Linked DNA regions of Homo sapiens: all the other regions are linked to region 3. Evidence: promoter capture Hi-C in 16 types of primary human blood cells and fetal thymus (Javierre and others, 2016). All regions are on one chromosome and are shown on one strand. Each heading gives the region's core, a stretch centred on a gene start or on the middle of the fragment in contact. The rest is flanking DNA. Distances are from core to core; before and after follow the strand shown.

Region 1 (3,805 bases), core at 485-2,984, 520 kb before region 3:
CAGCCCTAGAAGATGAGAACTACTTTGTCATTATTCTCTACATAAAGAGTTTGAAGTTTAAAAGGTTAAATAATTGCCTTTGTAAAAGGCAGAAAGCACATCTATCTTGTGTTCAGAGAGAGAGTTCTCACCCACACTGCTTCTCACTTGTCAATCCTGTAAAAAAGATTTGCTGTACTGGGAGAGAAGCCGTACTGTGTGTCCATCCAATTCTGAGGCTACTTGATTCCAACAAAATTGAAATATATTATCTTGGAAGCTAAAACAGTAACGAAAGTAGACAGTGGAAGAAATGGGAAAAGGGACAGGTAAAACTTAATAAGGAAGGGAAAAGTCTGGAAAGATTGTATGTGCAAGGCACTGGTCCAGGGAAAATACATTCCTGGCTGATCGTAGACAAGGGATATTGCCTGAAGTTTATATACACGTGAGAGCAAGGTGATGAGGAGTAGAAGGCAGTAAAGACATGAGACTCATAAAAATTTTTCTTGCCTTAGCAGAGGCATCATTTGGCCATGTCATATGAGGTTCCAAACACTGCATTTTGTTAATAGTCAGAAAGAACTAAGGAAAACAAAGAAAGAATTTCATTTCCCCCATCAAGTATCAAGAGTCTTGCAATGAGCTTACTTTCATTATTTTTCTTGCAAGTAATTAATACCACTCTTTCCTTACAGAAAGCATTCGCAGAAAGATGGTAATTAGATCCAAATGGACAATTTGTAAGGAGTCATTCATGAACGGCTTGATTTAACAAATATTTATGGAGTGTTTACTATTTGTGAAGCATTTTTCTAGACACTGGAGACACAGCAGAAAATAGTATTCCCCTACTCCTAAAAATAATTACCCCTAAAAATAATTTCCTATATTTTTTGAGTGTATTTTCTGTGGCAGAAAGGCAACACACAAAAAAGATGAACATGTAAAATTTAAGGTATGCTAAATAGTCATAAGGGCTAATGAGAAAAATAAAGCAAAGAAAGTTGGTATATATGGAGAATTATTGAAATCGTATAGGATTTTAACCAAATATGCAAATTAAAAAGAAGAGAAGGAAAATGGTCATGAAAGGGGGATGTGTTGAGGCTCATGTGGATTTAGTTCATGCTTATGAATCACAAGTATTGTGAAAGGTCTTGTAGCAAAATGAAAAGGGCATTAGACACATCACTTCTCTTATTTTATCCTCATTTCCTCATCTTTAAAATGGGAATTCTAATATTAGACCTGTTGGCCACAAAAATGTGGATGTGTGTCTCTAATGAGTCATTGAATATGAATGCAGTCTTCAAAATGTAAAAGAGTATATACATGTAGCTTCATCTTATCACAAAAAATAATTTATATTTTCGATCCCCTCTTCTTCTCTGGGTCTCTGAATATATATGTGTGTGTGTGTGTGTGTGTGTGTGCATGTGTGTGTGTGTGTATACACACACATATATTTATATATATATACATATATAGTCACAGATGTGTGTGTATATATATATATATATACACACATATGTAAAAATACAAATACAGACAAAAAGAAAGAAGGAAGAAGAGAGGGAAGAAATTTTCTATTGAAAGAAAGAAAGATACACACATATGTTGGTCCAGTCCATCTTATAAGTCATACAATGTATCTAGTACAAACATTCTGACAAGGAATAAGCATATCTGTGGTGGAAACCCAATAGTAGGGTTCTTCGAGTCTCTAAACAGACTAGGGGCAACAGAATTCTTCTGTATTTGGGTCTCCCTGGATTACTGAAGACTTTGCAGGGCTCTTTTAATCACCTCCTGAAATGCTGGTTTCCTTCCTCCATCCAAGAGACTCGACAAAATGGAACTTGTCAACTGTGCTTACGGCAATAAATCTCCTTTCCAGCATTTCTCCTGACATTCTAATGCCTTCCTGAACATAATCAAAAGGTCATTTTCCACCTGTATTCATCTTCTCCAAGCTGCCTTATATTTCTGCAAATCCAAGTTTCAACAAGTTTGATTTCATTCCTTCTACAGTATTTTATTTGCTTTAACCAAGCTAAAAATCCCACTGTCACCCTATGTTGTACTCTAATAGCTTGAATGGGGATTATACTTTTTTGGCTGACTGTATAATGTGGATACATTTTGAAAGCTGAACTGCTCCTTTTTCTTGAATGACAGAGAATTAAATGCTACCTTTCAGATATTGCCAAAGGATTTCTTATGATTTTGTTTCCCACATCAATTCAATAACTTTCTATGTATCAATTGTGCAGAGATCAGCGTTCTCACCTACATACAAAACAATCCCCCAGAAGCCCTCAGACTTGAACAGGCCTTTCGCTGTGCAATCCACTCAGCTGTAGTCATGCATTTCACAACCCTGTCCACAGTTTCTAGAGGAGCAATTCTATTATCAGAATTTGCGAACTTATGCATTCTTGATTGCTGTGGATTTCTTTTTAACTAGAAACAGTTGTATTTAATTTTGGTAGGTTCATATTATTGATTTAAGTGCAATCATCGTTTCTAAACAACACTATCAAGAATACAGTGCCATTTATAATATACGTTTATTGGGGTGGAAGGTACCAGGAATATCCCCAGAAAAATATATGGGAAAACCTTGGACTTCATCTTGCCAGTGATAATGGCAAGAGACCGGCCTGTATTTGCTAATTTTGTTTAACATATTTGTGACACTCATCTACCTAAGTCAGTCTGTCCACTTCCCTGAAATGAGTCAGCGGCTTATGATTTATTAACAAGGCAGGGCTTTGGCCTTTCACTTGGAGGAACAGAATCCCAGGACGATCTGCGGGAACCACAACCTCACCAAGATCTCCTCTACACAAGGCAGGAGCCATAGTTTACCCGGGGGCCGGTGTCGCCTCAGCCTCCTCCGGGAAAGCTCCGAGACAGCGCATCCAGAGCTAGAGCGCCGCCCACCCAGCGGTCCTGGGTCAGCTCCGCGGGATGCAGGACAAGGGTCCTCGGCCATCGAAATCACTCTCCGCTCATAAAGACACGGTTCCTTGTAGAGGAAGGATTGGTGTACCATTTGGGACCCTCCCAATCCCCCAGAAGTATCAATGGCCCTTGCTCCGAACCGCCGGGTGCGGAGACGCACGACAGAGCAAGTGCCCACTGAGAAGAGCAGCGGAGAGAAGAGGAGAGAGAAAACCAGGAGGGAGAGACTGAGCCCGCTTCCCCGCCTGTCGGGTTTCGGGACCAAACGCATCTCGGGCTGCTGGGCCCCGGAAGGACGCAAACCTCGGGCAGCAAAGGAAAAAGACCTCCCCCTCGCGGGCCCTGGGGCTGAAGGAAGAACTCGGTTGGAGGAAGGGAGGAGGAAAAGGAAACGCTCATCTTTTCCCGTTTTGTTTTATGTTTTGGTTTGGTTTGATTTTTCCTCCACTGAGCGCAAAACAGAATCAGCCGCGACTCTGGCTGGCCTGGAGAGCATCCATTATTTAATGAAAAACAAGAGATCATTTTTTTTCTTCTTCTTCTTTGAAATAAGTTCAGCAGCACTTCCCTCTCCCTCTCCTCCGTTCTTCTCCCTTGCCCAATTTACCCTCTCCACCATTTTTACCGTTCCCATGAAATAATTTTCCTCAGGTTTTATGTCTCGTGTATCAGGTTTTCATCTGCTCAAATGCCTTCAGAACATACTATTCCGCTAATGTGGACTTCCACTCCCAATGTTCCAGTCCTTTCCAGTCCAGGGATTTCTTTAATAGGTGAGGTTTGTCCTTCCCTTCCTTGGCCCTGTAACAGGAACACACATTTTCATTCCATGCCACTTGCATTCCAAACCCTTGCT
Region 2 (3,730 bases), core at 316-2,815, 720 kb after region 3:
CTGGAGCACTAAAATTAAGACATCCTGCTGTGATTACATTTAAATCTGGGGAGCAGAGGGACATGATGACCATTAAAAAAAAAATGCAGCTGGAAGCAAACATCACTGTGTTGATCATGTGAAAACCTGACCCAGGAAGGGCCTGTCAATCATCCTACCTGCACACATGAAAACAACACTGCCAAGGGAAATCCCTTCTCTCCATTTCAAGGGCTACTATCCCCTAACTTGGTATTTCTCAAACTTTAGTGGGTATAAAAATCAATTTGAGGGTTCATTTTGAGTGTATATTCCTATACCCATTACCAGAGATTCTGATTTGACAAATCTAGAGATTAGGACTTTGACAAAGCTACAGTTCAGTACTCTTCATTAAAAATAAAAATCCTCAGGTTATCATGACATGAGAATTCTGGGGATCATATTTTGAGAAATGCCATTCAAACATATGTTGGAAAGAGAGAGGGTGGTGGTGCTGGATATTTCTGTGTGGCTAGGGTGTCCTGTAACCTCTAGGTAATACGTTGCCTCTTTGTCCCCAGCTACTAGGTGCGCCTCCACTTTAGTTCTGAAAGTGATTGTCTTTTGGCTCTGAAATATCAAGAACTACTACTTCTTGATCATCCCAGAGATAGGCTGCTGCTTGCTCTGCAAATGCGAATGAATGTGAGCCAAACCACATTTGCCGTATTGCCTCACCCCTTTGTTCTCAACATAATTCCCCTTAAGACTGTGCAGGTTTCAGCAAAGTTAGTGGTAACTAAAGGCAAGTAAAACATAGAAAGGGAGAAACACATTTCATTTGACTGTCTGCCAAACCTAAGCACACAGAACTGATAAATCTTTTAGAAAAGTTATATTTCAGACTCATCCAGATTCTTTGTTTCCCTTTCATTCATGACTGCCTTTTCCAAGTGTATAGGTGCACCTCTTCCCAGGGAAACTATAGCATCTGGTACCTCCCTCCAATATAATGCACTGGGATACCACAATCTTCAAAAGTCCAAAATTTCCAAAGACTGAATTATGACATTAGTGATGACTATGTCTGTGGCATTTGTGTAGTAACTGAATTAAATCGCTTTCTCAATAAATTGCAATCTCTTTGACAGCAAAGATCCCACTCTCTCCCCTTTTAAACCCTTGTACCATAGGCTTTCACATGCAATAGTCCTCATAGATGACAGTACAATTCAGTGTCCTGGAGAGTTGACAAACAGAAAAGCCAGGATGGGTTTATCATTATTTATTTAATTTTTCTCTGAAGAACGAATGTTGTATTATTAGCCCTAGAAAGTTAATGAAGCAGGGTCCTTGGGCATTTCCATCAAGATCACTTCAACACAGCAAATAATGATCCCAAACTACCTCACATAAAATACCAACTATTTTCTAAGGTTTTGGCTAAATTGTAGAAATAATTGAGTGGGTTAAATGCCACTTTTAAGTGTTATGTACTCACTTGGAATTTACAAGGAGTCTCAGATAACTAAAAGTGCAGGAAGAACAAGTAAATCCCCTTAAAGAACATTGAATCCTATTACTACCAGAGAAACTACTGATCTCAGCACATTTTCATTCAAACTGGCAGTGTTTGCAGGCCTTGTCACACTAACACTGAAGAGCTATCGTGCAGATATTTTACTTTGACTTCACTATGTAGTCATTGAGAGTCTACTTGGTGAGTAGAATACTGAAAGGAAAGGAAATAATTGCTAATAAGGTGCATATTTCAAGAAGCAATTGCATCATAGACTATTGGAATAAGAGGTTTTGCAATCTAACAAGACTATATTGGATGTAAGGCTTCATCTCACACTGGTAGTGTGAGTCTGGGAAAATACATATTAATAATAGAATTTATTTGAGTATTTTTGGGGTAGGCCTTATGCCAAATTACTTATGTAAGTGATTTGACTTGCTAAAATCAGCTTTCTTATCTGTTAGATAATTTCCGGGAGTTTTTAAATGAGACTATAAACTAGGAAGTGCTAATTATAGCATCTGAAACATAATAGGTACACAATAAATTCTCAGTCCTCTTCTACATTACATAATTTTGTGTCTAATCTATTTCAGTAGGCTTTATGTTTTTAAGGTATATAGACTGCCAGAATTTATTTGTGAGATCATTTTCCTACAATGAAACACAAATACTTTGCTTTAGTAAAGTTAATCAAGACGTATGGCTGTATGAGTATGGTGTCAACATCATTTCATTTGGAGGATTCAAATAGGGCCAGTCTCAGAAGTAGATTAAATAGATAGATAGTAACCTGCATGGCATGCTTTTCTTTCTTTCTTTGTTTTGAGACAGAGTCTTGCTCTGTCACCTGGGCTGGAGTGCACTGGTGAGATCTCAGCTCACTGCAACCTCTGCCTCCTGGGTTCGAGAAATTCTCTGCCTCAGCCTCCTGTGTTTTACCCCAAGTCTAATGATACTGCAGAGGTTGCATTATCAACAGTTACCCCTCAGTTGTGGATTAATATGTGGACTCACACTGGCTTTTTGAGCCAATTACCATAGAAAAATACTTGTTATGAAATGCACAGGGCCAGAGTTTCCATTATGGAATCACTAATCTGCAGATTGTTTGCCCGTCTGTTTGAAAATCTTAAGGAATAAAAAATGATTCCAGAAATTTGAACCAAAGCAATTGGGAGAATGGTACTCCCATTTACTGAGAGGTTAAAGATCACCAAAGAAGCATCTTTGGTAGATGGTGAGGTAGAAGGTGGGACTCAACTCTGGAGGTGGGGCTTGGGCACCAAACCAAATTGAGGACTAGCTAAAATAGGGCCAGGGCAGAAGGAGCTTTCTATAAGACACACCCACCAGTGTGCCATGTCAGTTTACCATTGCCATGACAACACCCACAAGTTACTGCCTCTTTCCATGGCAACAACCTAATTACATAGAAGTTATTACCTTTTTCTTAAAAATTTCTGCACAAACCATCCCTTAATTTGCATATAATTAAAAATGGGTATAAATATGATGGCAGAATTGCCTCTGAGCTGCTATTTTGGGCACACTGCCTATGGGATAGCCCAACTCCACAAGGAGGCATTCCTCTGCTGCTGCTGTACACGCCACTTCAATAAAAGTTGCTGTTTAACACCACCAGCTCACCCTTGAATTCTTTCCTGGGCAAAGTCAAGAACCCTCCTGAGCTAAGCTCCAATTTTGGGGCTTGCCTGTCCTGCATCAATGCTATGTGTACGGTGGCACAAGGAAGGTTGGAAGCTCACTTTTAGACATGGTAAGTTTGAAATGACTATTAGACATCTAGTTGGAGATAGCGGTTCACCAATTGAACATTCAAATCTACTGTTCAGGGAAAAGGTCTAGCTAGAGATAGAAATCTGGGCGTCATTCACCTATAAACAGTATTTAAAGCCAAGACACTAGATGAGAATGAGATAATAATAAAACATTAAGTGTGGATAGATAAGATAAGCTGTCCAAGGATGGAGTTCTGAGGCACACCAACAATAAGAGATGCAGGTGATGGTCTGGGGTAAGAAACATCCACAAATGAAACCAAGGAGTAGAAAAGGTGGCAAAGTAAAACTAAGGAGAATGTGGTGTCTTGGTTAAAGACCTAAAGCTTTTAAAATATTTCAATTTCATAAATCAAAGTGGATTCAAAATTAGTTCTGTAATAATGTCACTTCCACTATTCGCATCCTGATATTTTGTTGTTGTTGTTGTTGTTTGTTTTTGTTT
Region 3 (3,787 bases), core at 453-2,952:
CATAACAATGGTTGGTATTAATTAACAGTATAAATAAATCTGGAGAAACCACAGACAAAGTGAATAGTGTTTCGCACAGGCAACGTCAGACAGAACTTACCACTTTGTCCATGAGCTTCCAAGTCTTCTCCACGGTCCTGCGATCTGCGGCAGCTTGCTTAGGGGGTCCAACTGCATCCTGAATAGCATCAATAATACCCAAAATTCGACCTTTTCGGGGATTTCCTCCTCGACCACCAGGGTTTCTGCCATTCATTGAGTTTGCCATCTGGAATTTTAGTTCTTTAAAAGGCAGATTTAAAAAAAGAAAAGTTAGTTGGTTTTGAAAATATTTACCCACCAGAAAACTAGAGACTAACTTGTACCACTGCATCTTCCTCCATCGATTAGAGCAAAACCAAAAGTTCCGGATTCATCTTTATCAATAAGCTTGTGAATTTACACTCTCAATCTTTACACACAGTAGTTTTAAGAGCAGTGATCCTAGATTTGCTTTTACAATACTAAGAGTTAAAGATGCATCCTGCTCACGTTTCAAGTAGCTAAGGCTGAACTAATACTCAACTCATAAAAAAAAAAAAAAGAACAAACAAAACTTAAACAGGTTTCCCCCACCTAGATAAAAACAGAATGTTCTTCCCCTCCTGCCTTAATTCCAATTCAAAATACCAGAACAACTGAAGGTCCTATCATACATTTTGGGAGCCTTACGCAGAAACTTCACTTTCACTCTGTTAGATTTCTCCAAGTTACATAAACATAAAGATTATCCTACACAAACGTAAGGGACAGCTCTGTTGTCAACAAAAGCGCAGGGCATGTCCCACACTAAAACCACCAAGTACGGACACACGAACACCTTTCTTTAAATCAACGCGGTGAGTCGTTATTCCCAAGAACCAAATGAAATTAACACACAAATAGCCCATTTGAAAAGAGAAAAGAGAAAAATGACAAGAGCGGCCACGGAAAGGAGGAGTTCACTTCTCTGGCTCCTCGCCTCTGCCCTCAACCCAAAGCTTTGTTTCAGGACGCCTGTGTCCCTTCCCTGCTCAGGCCCCTTCCCGGCCCCTCGGGTCTGAGCTGCAGGAGGAAGGTGGACTGGGAGGGGACAAAGTGTCCCTCCCGTGCCCGCAGCACCGTCCGTCTAGGGCGCGGGAGGGACACTGTGGGCTCGGCGCCTGGGTGGACGCGCCTCCCGGCCGCCTGCTGCAGTCCTCACCGCCGTCTGCCTGGACGCCCTCTCCCTCCTCCCCGGCCTGCGGGTTCTGGTCTTTAAATGCCCCACTTCAAACTGGACGGCGGCGGCAAAGGCAGCTGAGAGCCAGGGCTGTCCCCTCTTCCTCCTTGGCCCGCGCCTGGCTACCCCGGGCCCCCGGGCCGGCAAGAAGTGTGGAGCCTCCCCGGCGACCCCTTCCCTTCTTGCCTTTCGGCGCCGTAGCTGTCCAGAGACACGCGTGTGCGCGGGTCCCACTCCACACGCACGCAGCCCAGTGTGTGTGGGGAGCCCCGGCTGGGAGTGGGATCGCTGAGAACAGCTCGCTCCCGAAGAAGGAGCAACCCAGCGCGCAGGCCTCCGAGACGTGGAAACGCAACAATTACCGTCAAGACAAATCCACACCCGCTCTCCCCTCCCGCCCGACTCGGGGAGGCCGCGGGACGCCGCAGCAGCACTAGCAGGAGGAGGAGACCGCTCGCTGGACACCCCACCCCTGTGGCACACACAGGACCCAGGCTCGGGGCGGGGCGGGGCGGGGGCGGGGCCGGGCGCCGCTGAGCCAATGCCGCGCAACCGCGCACTGCCCGACAGCGGGTGCAGCCAATGGACGGGAGGCGCCCGTCCTCCTCGCGCTGCCGCCCCGTCCACGTCCTCCACAGTACACAATGGCCCCAGAGGAAGGCCCGCTCGCAGCACGTCAGAAAGGAATTGGACTCGGAGAGAAATGAGGGGCCTGGACTCTCCCGGGAACGAAAGTGGAAACGGGAAAGGAAATGGACGAAGGGATGCAAGGCACGAAGGAGCTAACCAATAAGGGGTGGCAGGTGGGCGTGAGCGTCGGGACCGGGAGCCAAAGCCATCTGGGGCTGAAAGGCGGGACTTCCTGCTTCGCTTACCTTCCTAGTCTTTTGTTTCATAGCAACAGAGTAGTGGCTGGAAGGGTGTTGCTTCTCCGCTCTGGGCGGGTCCAACGCTGGAGAAATTCATCTCCCTAGGGCTGCCAAACCCTTCTACCCAGGACAGCAGCCAAACAGGTCTATGACGTTGCTTCTTGTTGGCTATCAAAAAGAGCAACAGCCACTGAGCTTCTAAAATGCAGAATAAATCTCACAGAGAGTAGGCTGGGGTGACATCTGAATGCCAACTGAAACTTCCCAAGTTTCCGAGTTTCTCTTTTGCTGTTAGTTTTAGAGGGATTGCAGACCAAACATCAGGCTGATGAAAAAGCAAATAGTTGACAACGCTGGCCAAACAGTCTCTGCTAATCATGCCAAAGCAATAAAAGTACCAGATAATGGGAATTGCTGATAAATACCTTGCACCTTTTTACTTAGTGCAAGTTTCTGCCTAAATGACTGAGGAGGAGACAGCTACTGTGTTTTGTCGGAGTCACCTTTACATAGATTTCTATCCATTTAAAAACAACCTTACTGTAGCTGCCATTCTCTACCAGCATTGTTACCTCTTTCTGTGGCTCCCTTCTTTGTGCTCTTAAAAAGGCCGACATCTGGCTAGTCTTTAAAGGAGAAAGCTACTGTGCTGGGACTTGTCTTTCAGCAATATCATAGGTTAAACAAATGCCTTCCATTTATTTCAGTTTACTTCAATCCCACCACTCATGCTACCAACAATTGCTCTGGACTTCATACTTTGGAACTTTCTTTCCACTACAGTTGATAGCGTTTATTACACTTTTCAGCTTGGACATCTCAGATGTTCTGATATTTTACATTGGGTTTTTTGTTTTTGATTTTGTTTTTTCAAATCTTGCTCTAACCACGTAACCTGATAAAATGTTTCTCAATGGTTCTAACCACTTTCTAGCAACTAAGAATTTTAATACTGTAATTATTACTATGAAGGATCCTGAGTTTTCCTTTACAGCCTTGAATTTACATGGTTAAGATTTTAATTTGACGAAAACAGAAAAAAAATGTGCCTTTGCAACCAGTCAGGTGATAAAGTGTGATTCAGGAAGTAATTTTGTTTCCTTGTCATTATTTCTGTGCCAGTAATTAAAGAGTAGTTCCTTGTTTTCACATTGCATTTATCTACAAAAGTGCTGGCCTCTCCATATCTCCTCCACCCATCCATATCTCTTTTACTCATAGTCGTAGTAGCTACATTTACTAAGGGGAGACTGTAAAAGAAAAAAACTGTGTTACCTTTAAAATAAATTTTAAAAGAATTAATGTGTAGAAGCATGTAGCAAAACAGTGGCTTAAGGGAACATTATAACTAAGTATATTACTTATATTCATATCTGGATAAATGTAAAATACCCAAAATACATGTTATAGCATGTGCCATTCCTTTTATATGGTGTTTTGCAACTGAAAGAGATGAGTTAATGAGAAAATGGCATTGCCTATGGTATCAAGCATATCATGTTGATATAAATTACAAGTTTTGAGGTGTATGGTTTGACGTATTTTGAAATATATGTATGTGAGATACGGTAGCATCCCTTACCACTTATTTGCCATCTCACTTTCCTTGGTTCTAGTTACCTGTGGACAACCAGGGTTTGAAAATAGGTGAGTATAGTACAAAAAGATATTTTGAGAG
Region 4 (3,998 bases), core at 607-3,106, 540 kb after region 3:
TATTTACTGTGTGGTAGATTTTTTTTTAGTTGATTCATGCATGTTGTCATTTGGTTGCCACAATATCCTTATGAAGTAACCATTTTATAGATAAGAACATTGAGGCATACAGAGGTTATGCAGCGTGCCTGGTATTATAGAACTAATGTAAGATGTAACTTGAGCCCAGGATTTCTGAGAACAGCTATGTTATAATGCCCCTATTTTCCTTCTTTCTCTCCTCTAATTATGATAATGTGGTTTCAGACCAATACAGGACATTCCCGGGCTTAATAGCTTCCAAAAACAATTCCTTTTTTTCTTTCTTTTTTTTTTTTTTTTTTTTTTTTAGACGGAGTCTCGCTCTTGTTGCCCAGGCTGGAGTGCAGTGGCACAATCTTGGCTCACCACAACCTCCTCCTCCGGGGTTCAGGCAATTCTCCTGCCTCAGCCTCCTGAGTAGCTGGGATTACAGGTGCCCACCACCATGCCCAGCTAATTTTGTACTTATTTTTAGTAGAGATGGGGTTTCACCATGTTGGCCAGGCTGGTTTCAAACTTCGTGACCTCTGGTGATCCGCCTGCCTCGGCCTCCCAAAGTGTTGGGATTACAGGCGTGAGCCACTGCACCCGGCCCAAAAACAATTCTTAAATACTATTAACACAAATCAATATGCACCTATCTTCCCACCTGACTCTTGGGGTTTTCTTCCTACTTTTTTCATCCTTTCCTTGGAATTTTGATATCAGTTATCCCTCCTGCACTCTGGGTCTTAAAGGAGAAAAACAGATCAGTATTTAAAGGGAACACATTATGAGGGATAAATTTTCCCCAATAAAGGATCTTTGTATGAAAGCTTATGGCTAAAGAAGTTATATTTTTTATCTTGACTTCATCAGTTATTGCACTAGCCTGCCCCACTGCCATACTTCCAATTTATTTTTACTCTATATTAATCTTCCTATGTCACCAACTTTTTATGTCATTCTGTTTTGTTTTGTTTCTTAAAGGTGCCTCTTTCCCTGCTTCTTGAAGGATAAGAATGCTGGCCTATCATTCAAAACCATTGGCTAACTATGTATAACTTTACTTTTATTATTCTTGCTGTATGTACTTTCCACTTCAACCAGAGTATTGTCATTACCTCATTAATGTTCCCTTGTTCCCTCCAGTCCCTATGCCTGGTAAGATCTCATCTTTGTATTTTGAAATTTTACCCATTTTCCAAAAGCCAGATCATGGCTTTTATGCTCCTCAGCTCGTAACCAAAAATTAGGTCTTTCATTTCTCTGCTCTCAATGTACCCATACTTCTCTTATTGCATTTATCATATGCTGATTTGAATTTTTGTTTTCTCTTTATACACTTTTCTTAGTGTTCCTGGTGGACTGTAAAATATTAATATAAGGGGTCGGCATCACATACTACTTTGCATTTTCTAATAGTAATGGACTCCTTATAGTATGTGCTCAGTTAAGATTTATTTTTAATACTATACCTAATAAAGGATATCATTCTTACCTCAGCTTATAAGGTGCTTTGATGAAAATTCCAAACCCACCATCAGCATGATGGTAACAGCTATCAATTAAGATATGCCAGAGACAATACTGGCATTCTGTATAGTCTTTAATTTCACTCTTCAAACTACCCGGCATTGTAGGTATCATGACTCTTATTTTATAGGTGAACTAAGGTTCAAGGCATCTTGTTCAGGATCCAGATAGTAAATGTTGGAGTTAACTATAAAATTCAACTGTGCCTTACTGGTCTCCAAAATCAAATTCTTATTTTAAATATTCCTATACAACCATTTTTAATAAAACTCATTGAAATGTCTCTTAGGCTGCTTCATTCTTTTATGTTCCCACTATACAGAGAAAAACTGGGGGCACCCTCATCAATAGATATGTTGATTTTCAGACTGTGTTCTTAAGTGATTTGCTTCCACTTGAAATCCCCCTCACTAGGCACTATTTCCTATTCATGGTTGCCTGACTCATTTACCTTAAAATGTTCTCCTGTCATCACATTTTTCCCAGTCAGCTAGTTATAAAATGTTTGAATAATGTTTTTGATCATCAATTTTGTATCTCTAAAATGGGAATAATGACATAGTCTATCTCATAAAGTTGCAAGTATCAAATGGATGCTTACAAAGCAGGGCTCTGCTCACAGAGTAAGCATTTAATACATTTTAGTTATTTTTTATTTAAAGCACATTTTAAAAGAGAATAGCCATGTATAACCTCATTTTACAGAGAAAGGAAATGAGATGCAGACAAGAGATTTGTCTCAAATCAACCAGAGGTTAGAATCAGGTCTAAGAATATACTCTGACCCCATTACTCCCAATACTGATACTTTTTATAATATGCAAAATTATTTGACTTACCTTCTACCCACTTTTCCCCCTTATCTGTCATCATGTATCTTTTGTTTGCCCAAGGTCTGTTTTCTCACCATCCACTCTAAGCAATGTGCTCATTGGTACAATTTAATTTTTGCTGTTTCAGTTTTGAAAAGTCCTCTTAAACTCTTCCTAGTTATTAACGTTGTCCAACCCACAGGTCCTTTTCAAATAACACTCACTCATATGTTTTCCACAAAAGCCTCAGGTCACACCTACTTGTTCCTCCCTGACTTTCTCTCATGTTTACTTTGTCTATAATATTATGCATTTATTATACCTTGCTTGTCCTATAAATGTCTCATAGTGTGTGGTACTGATTTTAGTTTTACAGAAGGAAGTATTAACATACATAACTGGTTAAAGCTGAAGGAGCTATAACTGCACTGCTTTGCTGAGACTTTTTCACTGTTATCATGGCAAGACTTGGTTTGCTATCCCATGTGTTATGTTGGAGTACACTGTGGAACAGGCAAATTTGTGCTTCTAAGCTTTTATACAAATGTATGAAAAATATTTTTTCAATAATGCTTTTTGCAACTGTTCAAAAGTCAGACTTTAAGTTCAGAGTTGTCATCAACTCTACCGCTAAAACTCAATTTATTATCTTTACTAATTTGCTATTTCTCTAGAGATTTGTGTAATGCTGAAACATGAAAATATTTGTTCTACAAAATATACTTTCCAAAGTGCCTAAGATAGTGGACAGAGATTTTCTAGAATTTTTCCTTTCCTGTTTCATTGTACTGCCCCAATTTCTCTTTCTTATTTTATCTTTTCCCGACACAGTAGAAGAGTTTTATAGACTACTCTGGAGTTTAGGGCAACTTACACCTAAAGTAGTGAAACAAAAATCCCCCATTTCCATGCACAATTCATCTCTCTGATAGCTTTAATCAATCTCTTTGATCATACTCAGGTGAGGTTTGCTGCTTAACTGTTTTATGCTATCCATGGGTCAACTCAAGACGACATTGTCCACAGAAGTCTAAGGAATGTGTAACAGGAAGTCAACATTGTTATTCCTATGGTGATATGGCTTGGCTCTGTGTCCCCACCTAAATCTCATCTTGAATTGTAATAATCCCCATGTGTCAAGGGTGGGACCAGGAGAAGATAATTGAATCATGGGGGCATTTTCCCCCATGCTGTTCTTGTGATAGTGAGTTCATTCTCAGGAGATCTGACGGTTTTATAAGGGCCTTCCCCCTTCGCTCTGCATTAATTCTCTCTCCTGCCACCCCGCGAAGAGGTCTTTTCTGCCATGAATGTAAGTTTCCTGAGGCCTCCCCAGCCATGCAGAACTGTGAGTCAATGAAATGTCTTTTCTTTATAAATTACACAGTCTTGGGTATTTTTTCATTGGCGCATGAGAATGGACTAGTACATATGGTGAAATATATTCCATCTTCCATTTATAGATTCATTGTTTTAATTTATTAACTCTTGTGAGAAAATGTTCATTTATTTTTATTTTCTGCCAATATTAGCTCTGGGAATAAGCAAGCAATTCTTCAAGTTTTGGATAATAGTTTAAATATTAGCATTGTCTTTGGGTGGTAGTATCATGATTAGTTTTTTTTAACATATCATATAGTATTTAAAAAA
Region 5 (3,776 bases), core at 1,216-3,715, 750 kb after region 3:
ACATTGTGATTGTGTGTGTATATATAAAATTAAGCAAAAATGTCCTTGTGTAATTACCTTATAGTGTGTAATGCATCCTATACTGTTCTTATATATTTCCTAAAAAACCTGTGAGCATGACCCACTAAAAATTGTTATGTGTTGTTATTGTTTCTTGACCCAAAGTTTGATAAACAAGTCTTAGGATATAAGTCTTAGGCTAAAAAGGTTTCTGGGATATAATAGGGAAATAAGGTACCCAGATATCATACTGGGCATGTCTAACAAATCTCAAGGCTCTGGAATTTCTTTTTAACATTTTACATTAACTGTGTAGCACTAAGTCTTATTGTGGGCACAGAATTTTTTTTTTATTTTACTGTTGATAGTAACAATAACAGCAACAATAAAACTGTCATCTTGCCAGAGTTTCCACATCCTAAGATAAGCAAATGACAGAAGGTTCTACTACCCTGCAAAAGGTTATTTTAGAAGAAGTAAGCATGTGGCTCCAGAACATTAGTAGTGCCAAGCAGATTTAGTTAACTTAAGAGCACTTAGTGGTTGCTCAAGAGGTAGGTTGTCATTTCTTTCCCTTCTTTCCTCCAAAACAATAAGACAACTGAAATGAAGATCCCTATGACTCTGTGTGTATGTATGATACTAGAGTTATAATATTCAGTAAAGATAAACATTGCTTAATAAAACATATATTTTTTAAATATACATTTATATGTGTATAAACAATAAAAATTTATTTCTTACTCTATGGCTGAATCTCAAGAGGGTTACTCAGAGGTTAAATTCAACTAGTAACTAAACTGTCTTTTCTTTCCCATTAATTTCTCTTATTCTTTCCAAATTAATTTAAAAAAATTCAACAATAATATTCTAAAAGAATGGGGGTGTAGAATGGGGGTGTGCCTGCAATCAAACAAGGAAGACTCAATGTGATAGTAACACTAATAAACAAAAATTGGTCCTGATAAATGTGGCCATTGGTACCCTGCAGAAGCTTTCCCCAGCTTATGGGATTTCCTGGAGTTCAGGGAGGAGACTGCTCTTAGGGAAGCCACTTTCTGAAAAGCCTGAGTTTACAGTCTGCCAACCCTAGACAAAGTCCCTGCTCTCAAAGATTCGCCACGAGGTCCACAAAACTCTGGACAAGAAGGGAACAAGATGAATAAGGGACAATTCATGTAGGAACAAGTTAACTACAAAACATGCTCCTCAAAAGCTATCATTATTTTCACTGTCCCCTGCCCTCCAGACACAAATATAATTTCATTCCATAGATGCAACTCTCTGCTGACTGTGTATACCTCAATGACTATCATTTTCCAATCAGAATAGAGCATTTTCCTGTCCTTTCCTAGAAATGTATCTCCTTTGTTTGGTGTTGCAGACTCCAATAAGATGTGATTTTCAGATATGATCCCATTGGCCCTTAAAGATCTGTCTGATATACTAATTATTACCATGTTATTCAAATATTCTCTTGCCAGTGACTGTCACTGATATATCTTGCTTTATAACTGAAAAAATGGCTTTCATCTTCTAAGAAGATAATCTAATAAAACCCTAAAAAACAGCTAACCTGCAAGAATTGATATGTTGATGTCATGATATGTTCAAATTCTAAATCTAAGCATGAGATTGGGGTTTAAATAAAAATTTGTGAGTTTACCCAGGCCAAACAGGTATTGGTAAATTAATTTTGTATTTTGAAATTTTGGACAGCATGTTTATTGGTCAGAGTAACTTGTTCCTTGACAAATAACAATTGCCAGATATCAATGGCTTAACACACCAAAACTTGATTTCTTCGTCATACAATGTGGTCAACGTGGGTTTTTCAGAGATCTCTGCTCATCATAGTTGTTTGGGAATCAACTATCTATCTCAATACACATTCACATGATTACCAGAGCCACAGGAAAGAGACCATATCAAATTGCTTAACAAAAGGACACCTAGAAGCATATGTCACTTCCACTCATATTTATTAACCGAAGAAAGTCAAAGTGTCACACCTCACTTCAGGAGGATGAGACAGTGCAAAAACTGTCTGGAAGGAAAATGGGAAATATTTAGTAAATAACCCAAAAGGAAAAAACTATCTGCCTGGAAGGAAAATGGGAAATATTTAGTAAATAACCCAAAAAACTACCATTTTTCTCACTTTTCATATTTACTTGGTGACCAAGTATATTAGTCCACTCTCACATTGCTATAAAGAACTACCTGAGACTGGGTAATTTATAAAGAAAAGAGGTTAATTTGGCTCAGAGATCTGCAAACTGTACAGGAAGCATGGCTGGGGAGGCCTCAGGAAACTTACAACCATGGTGGAAGGCAGAAAGGGAAGCAAGTACATCTTCACATGGCCAGCAGGAGAGTGAAGACGGAAGTGCTACACACTTTTAAACTGCTAGATCTCACTCACTATCACAAAAAAAGCAAGGCGGAAATCTGCTCCCATGATCCAATCACCTCCCCACAGGTCCCTCTCCCAACATTGGGGATTACAATTCAACATAAGACTTGGGTGGAGACACATGGCCAAACCCTATCACCAAGAGTTGTTCATTGAAATCTCATTTCAGTTTCTAGTTTCCATTCATTAGTTGACTTAGTTTATGATCTCATTTCCTTTTTTTTTTTGTTTTGTTTTGTTTTTTTGAGACAGTCTCGTTCTGTCACCCAGGCTGGAATGCGGTGGTGTGATCTTGGCTCACTGCAACCTCCGCCTCCTGGATTCAAGTGATTCTCCTGCCTCAGCCTCCCAAGTAGCTGGGACTACAAGCATGCCCCACCACGCCTGGCTAATTTTTTGTATTTTTAGTAAAGACAGGGTTTCACCATGTTGGTCAGGCTGGTCTTGAACTCCTGACCTCAAATGATCTTCCCGCCTCAGCCTCCCAAAATGCTGGGATTACAGGCATGAGCCACTGGGCCTGGCCCTCATTCCTATTCAAATAGAATATAGAAAAGCCTTTTATCTTTACTCAACAACTCCATACCTTATACCCAGCCATATTGTATTACTTACAGTCCAGTACACTTTATTTCATATCTTCATGCTTCTCACATTTCTCCTTCTGTTATCTTCTCTAACTGAACATCCCACCCTCTCATAGCCATCTCAAATTTTACATCTTTTAAAAAGGCTTCTTAGGCTGGGTGCGGTGGTTCATGCCTGTAATCCCAGCACTTTGAAAGACCAAGACAGGTGGATCACGAGGTCAGGAGATAGAGACCATCCTGGCTAACATGGTGAAACCCTGTCTCTACTAAAAATACAAAAAAATTAGCCAGGCGTGGTGGTGGGTGCCTGTAGTCCCAACTACTCAGGAGGCTGAGGCAGGAGAATGGCATGAACCCGGGAGGTGGAGATTGCAGTGAGCCAAGATTGCGCCACTGCACTCCAGCCTGGGAGACAGAGCGAGACTCCATCTCAAAAAAAAAAGTCTTCTTAGAAAGCCCCACATACTTCTAGCCTGTCTATAATAACACCTTGGTGATGATACTTTATATATATTTAACAAGAACTGTATGTAGAAGAACTAATATGTAGTTGCCCCTAATTTCAAATCCCAAATATAGTCATATATAAGTATACATATATTTATAAATATTTATAAAGGTCTTCTTAAATATCAATCTATCTATCTATCAATAATCACCCTAATGGAAACTCCATTAGGGCGATTATTGATATCTAATCATTTAATTTTTATAAAAATATAAGCTCCATAAGTGGAAGAATTATTCTTATAGAATAGTCATGACCATAT
Region 6 (3,571 bases), core at 645-3,144, 700 kb after region 3:
CTTAGTAAATTCTGAAGACTATAGATTATACAATATCTGCTCTCAGACCACAGTGGAAGTAAGCTAGAAATCAATAACAGAAAGATAGCTGGAAAATCCCAAAATATTTAGAGATTAAACAATGTACTTTTAAATAACACATCGTTCAAAGAAGAAATTATAAAAGAATTTCACAAATATTTTAACTAAATAAAAATGAAAACAAACATAAAAATTTGTGGGATACAATGAGAGCAGTGCTTAGAGGGAAATTTATACTATTAAATGTATATATTAGAAAAAAAGAAAGATCTGAAATCAGTCATCTAAGCTTCCACCTTAGGAAACTAGAAAAAGGGGTGCAAATTAAATGCAACATAAGCAGAAGGAAATAAATTATAAAAACTAGAACAGAAATTAATGAAATTATAAGCAAGAAATCAAGAGAGAAAATTAATGAAACCAAGAGCTGATTTTTTGAAAATATTAACAAATCAATAGGTCTCAGAAATGAGGCCAGGCACAGTGGCTTATGCCTGTCATTCCAACACTTAGGGAGGTGGAGGCAGGAGGATCACTTGAGCCCAGGAGTTCAAGGCCAGCCCAGGCAATATGGTAAAACAAAAAAACAAACAAATGAAAAGAGGTACATCAATACACATCCCATAGACATGAAAAGGATAATCGAGGTACAATATAAAGTACTCTATGCCCAAGAATTTTATAGCCTTGATGAAACTGACCAATACCTAGAAAGACACTATCTGCCAAGATTCACATAAGAAGAAATAAGCAATCTGAATGGGTACATATATTAAAGAAATTAAATCAATGATTAATAACCTTCCAAAATACATATCACCAGGCCCAGATGGGTTCACTGGTAAACTCTACCAAGCACCTTTTAAAATTTTATTTTACTTTTAATTGACAAATAATAGTTGTATATATTTATGGGGTACAATATGATGTTATGACACATCAATCATATCAGTTGTGAAAATTGAACACTGCGATATTGACAAAAGGTGTATATATACCAATAAAACAGACTAGGGAGCCCAGCAATAGACCCACATAAATATAGCCAGCTGATCTTTTACAAAAAAGTAAAGTCAATATAATGTAGAAAAAATCATCTTTTCAACAAATGATCCTGTAATAACTGGACATCTACATGCAAAAAGAAAACAAATCAATCTAAATACAGACTTTACAACATCCAAAAAAGTGTAAACCAAAATGAATCACAGACCTAAATGTAAAATACAAAACTATAAAACTTCTAAAAGATAACAGGATAAAATCTAGGTAACTCAGTTTTTGGTGATGACTTTTTAGATACACCGAAGGCATGATCCATGAAAGAAAAAATTGATAAGCTAGATTTCATAAGAATCAATAATTTTTGTTCTGAGAAAGAGAATAAAAAGAGAAGCCACAGACTGAGAGAAAAATATTTGCAATATACATATCGGTAAAGGATTTTTATCTAAAATATACAAATGATTTCTAAAATTCTAAAATTCAACAGTAAAAAATAACCCAATTAAAAGAATGGGTTTTCATATGACAGAAATTTAGATGTGGTTCGTGGAGAGAAGGAAAGAGACATCAATATCTTCCTTTTACATCAGAGAACTCTAGAGATATTATGTCAAGTTGATGGGAAAAGGCATTGAAAAAGTTATATATTGTTCAATTTTTAAACAGTAGAAGGAGTAATATTACACAATAATCAGCTTTGGGAGGAAAGGATGAGGGTAAATTAAGAGTGATGCGAGGAACCATAGCTCTATCTTTCAAAGTGAGAAGTAAACATATATGACTAAATTTGATAAATGAAGAAACATCTATACTATTTAGAGTTAAAAAGCTAATTCTAATAAAAAATGAAGAGCCAAAATTGTTCAATCAAAATAATTGCTTCTGAACAATAGCGCTAAGAAAGAGGAAGCAGGTCGGAGACTGATTTTAATAACTTTGAAAAAAATATAAAAAATAGAAAATAAATAAAGCAAAAATTTGTTCGTGATAGTTGATTGAAATAAAACATTGGCTATAAAGTAAGAGGGCAGTGGTTACTTTAAGTCAGGTGGTCTGAAAGTGACCTGACTTATGAGAGTGGGCAGCCATGAGAAACCTGGAGTCAATGTGATCCAGGCAGAGAGCGCTCCCAGTCTTGAGCTAAGTGGAAGCCAGCTTGTCATGTTGGGGGAAGAGAAAGGACACTTTAGCAAGCCAAAAGATGCACAGGGAGGTGAGCAAGGGTCAATCATATAGTCCTTATAGGTTATGGGATAAAGTTTGGATCATATTTAAATTAAAATGGAGAAACACCAAGGGGATTAAAGTAATGAAGAGATGTTCTGCTTTTAATTTAAAGAGACAATACTGGCTAGTCTGTAAAAGATAGACTGGTGGAGGTAAAAATAAAGGCAAGAAGATAGGGTGCTCCTACCACAGGTTGGAGAGAGGTAATAGTGATTCGATGAACAGTGTTTAATGTTTGTGACATATCTTTGGAGATAAATAAGGTTTATTCATGGATTATACACGAAGTGTGAACAAAAGTGGGGAAACACTGGAGACTCCACACAGCAGGGTGATGGTAGTGATTTCAACAGCTCTGTGACAGACAGTGGTGGAGATTTTTCCTTGAAGCAGAAATCCAGAGTTCTCTTTTGTGCATCTTCAGTTTGAGATGCCCATTAGAAACTCACATGCAGATCCTATATGTGGAATTTGACATATGAATTTGTAGTTCTAAAAAAGGGTTCAACTGCTGAAACATATCTGATAATCATCAGAATGCAGGTAATACTTAAAGCCAGAAGAGCCTCATCTTAAAAAAAGAGGGTCTATAATAAAAATAGCAAATTTTATTTTGTGGTTATGATATGCCTAACACTCACCTAAAGGCTTTTTCCATGTTATGTTTGGAGGTCCCAAGACCACCTCTGGGTTTGATGATTTGCTAGGGCTGAAATAACTCAGTACGTAATCACTTTCATGGCTATGATTCATTACAGGAAAAGTATGGAAAGCAAAATCAACAAAGGGAAATGGCACATGGGGCATTTTCTGAGGGAAACCAGACACAGCATCCTTTCCCAGTGGAGTGATGTAGAATATGCTTAAACCCCCAGCAATTAGATGGGATAACACAGGAAGTGTTGCCAACCAGGTAAGCTAGTTAGAGACTCAGATCCCTGGGTTTTTATTGGAGGCTAATCACACAGGCAGCCTCTGTCTGGTACGCACAAATATTCCAGAATTTCAGAAGTAAAAGAGGTGGTCAACACAAACCATATTGTTTTCATAAATAGTTATGGTGAGCTACTCTAATCAGTTAGTTGTGTGGAAATACTCCCCAAATCCAAGTTCCCAGATGCCAACTCAGGGCCAAACTTGTGAGCAGGTCTATTTAAGGATAAGCAGTTAGGCCTTCTCTTTTGAGTCTCTTTGGGACACATATCTTAGACTACTTAAGACTCCAACAAGCTTTTCTGATAGGTCTTATCACTATCTTTATTTTACCAACAAGTAAACCATGGGAGATGCACACTCATTTTATAAGGCAAAAGGTTGG

Evidence for each region. Contacts are between HindIII fragments. The CHiCAGO score rates a contact against its expected background, and 5 or more counts as called.
Region 1: a contact is called between a fragment that was not itself captured here and the fragment with the promoter of CBLB in region 3, in 1 of 17 cell types (neutrophils). The highest score is 7.7, in neutrophils.
Region 2: a contact is called between a fragment that was not itself captured here and the fragment with the promoter of CBLB in region 3, in 1 of 17 cell types (total CD8 T cells). The highest score is 5.3, in total CD8 T cells.
Region 4: a fragment that was not itself captured here is called in contact with the fragment with the promoter of CBLB in region 3 in 1 of 17 cell types (naive CD8 T cells); the score reaches 5.2 in naive CD8 T cells.
Region 5: a contact is called between a fragment that was not itself captured here and the fragment with the promoter of CBLB in region 3, in 9 of 17 cell types (activated CD4 T cells, naive CD8 T cells, naive B cells and 6 more). The highest score is 9.6, in activated CD4 T cells.
Region 6: a contact is called between a fragment that was not itself captured here and the fragment with the promoter of CBLB in region 3, in 1 of 17 cell types (naive CD8 T cells). The highest score is 5.7, in naive CD8 T cells.

The regions. Positions count from the first base shown.
Region 1 is chr3:105,350,832-105,354,636 of GRCh38, forward strand. No RefSeq gene overlaps it. Among named protein-coding and RNA genes, the nearest start is that of ALCAM, 14 kb to the right of the region's middle. RefSeq lists enhancers at 2,447-3,265, 2,854-2,943, 2,984-3,133. The HindIII fragment of the contact is 5,591 bases long and covers 1-3,805 here.
Region 2 is chr3:106,588,801-106,592,530 of GRCh38, forward strand. All of the region lies in intron 2 of LOC101929485 (a long non-coding RNA gene), which reads right to left. Among named protein-coding and RNA genes, the nearest start is that of LINC00882, 650 kb to the right of the region's middle. The HindIII fragment of the contact is 4,088 bases long and covers 1-3,609 here.
Region 3 is chr3:105,867,310-105,871,096 of GRCh38, forward strand. It overlaps CBLB (Cbl proto-oncogene B), which reads right to left and starts at 1,703. Exons shown (of 19, transcript NM_170662.5): 1 at 1,427-1,703; 2 at 101-282. The coding sequence starts at 268. RefSeq lists a silencer at 1,672-1,901. The HindIII fragment of the contact is 9,979 bases long and covers 1,018-3,787 here.
Region 4 is chr3:106,405,629-106,409,626 of GRCh38, forward strand. It overlaps LOC101929485 (a long non-coding RNA gene), which reads right to left. Exons shown (of 16, transcript XR_007095992.1): 12 at 671-751. Among named protein-coding and RNA genes, the nearest start is that of CBLB, 540 kb to the left of the region's middle. The HindIII fragment of the contact is 2,045 bases long and covers 835-2,879 here.
Region 5 is chr3:106,611,600-106,615,375 of GRCh38, forward strand. All of the region lies in intron 2 of LOC101929485 (a long non-coding RNA gene), which reads right to left. Among named protein-coding and RNA genes, the nearest start is that of LINC00882, 630 kb to the right of the region's middle. The HindIII fragment of the contact is 2,946 bases long and covers 993-3,776 here.
Region 6 is chr3:106,567,595-106,571,165 of GRCh38, forward strand. The region is part of intron 2 of LOC101929485 (a long non-coding RNA gene); the gene reads right to left. Among named protein-coding and RNA genes, the nearest start is that of LINC00882, 670 kb to the right of the region's middle. The HindIII fragment of the contact is 3,173 bases long and covers 309-3,481 here.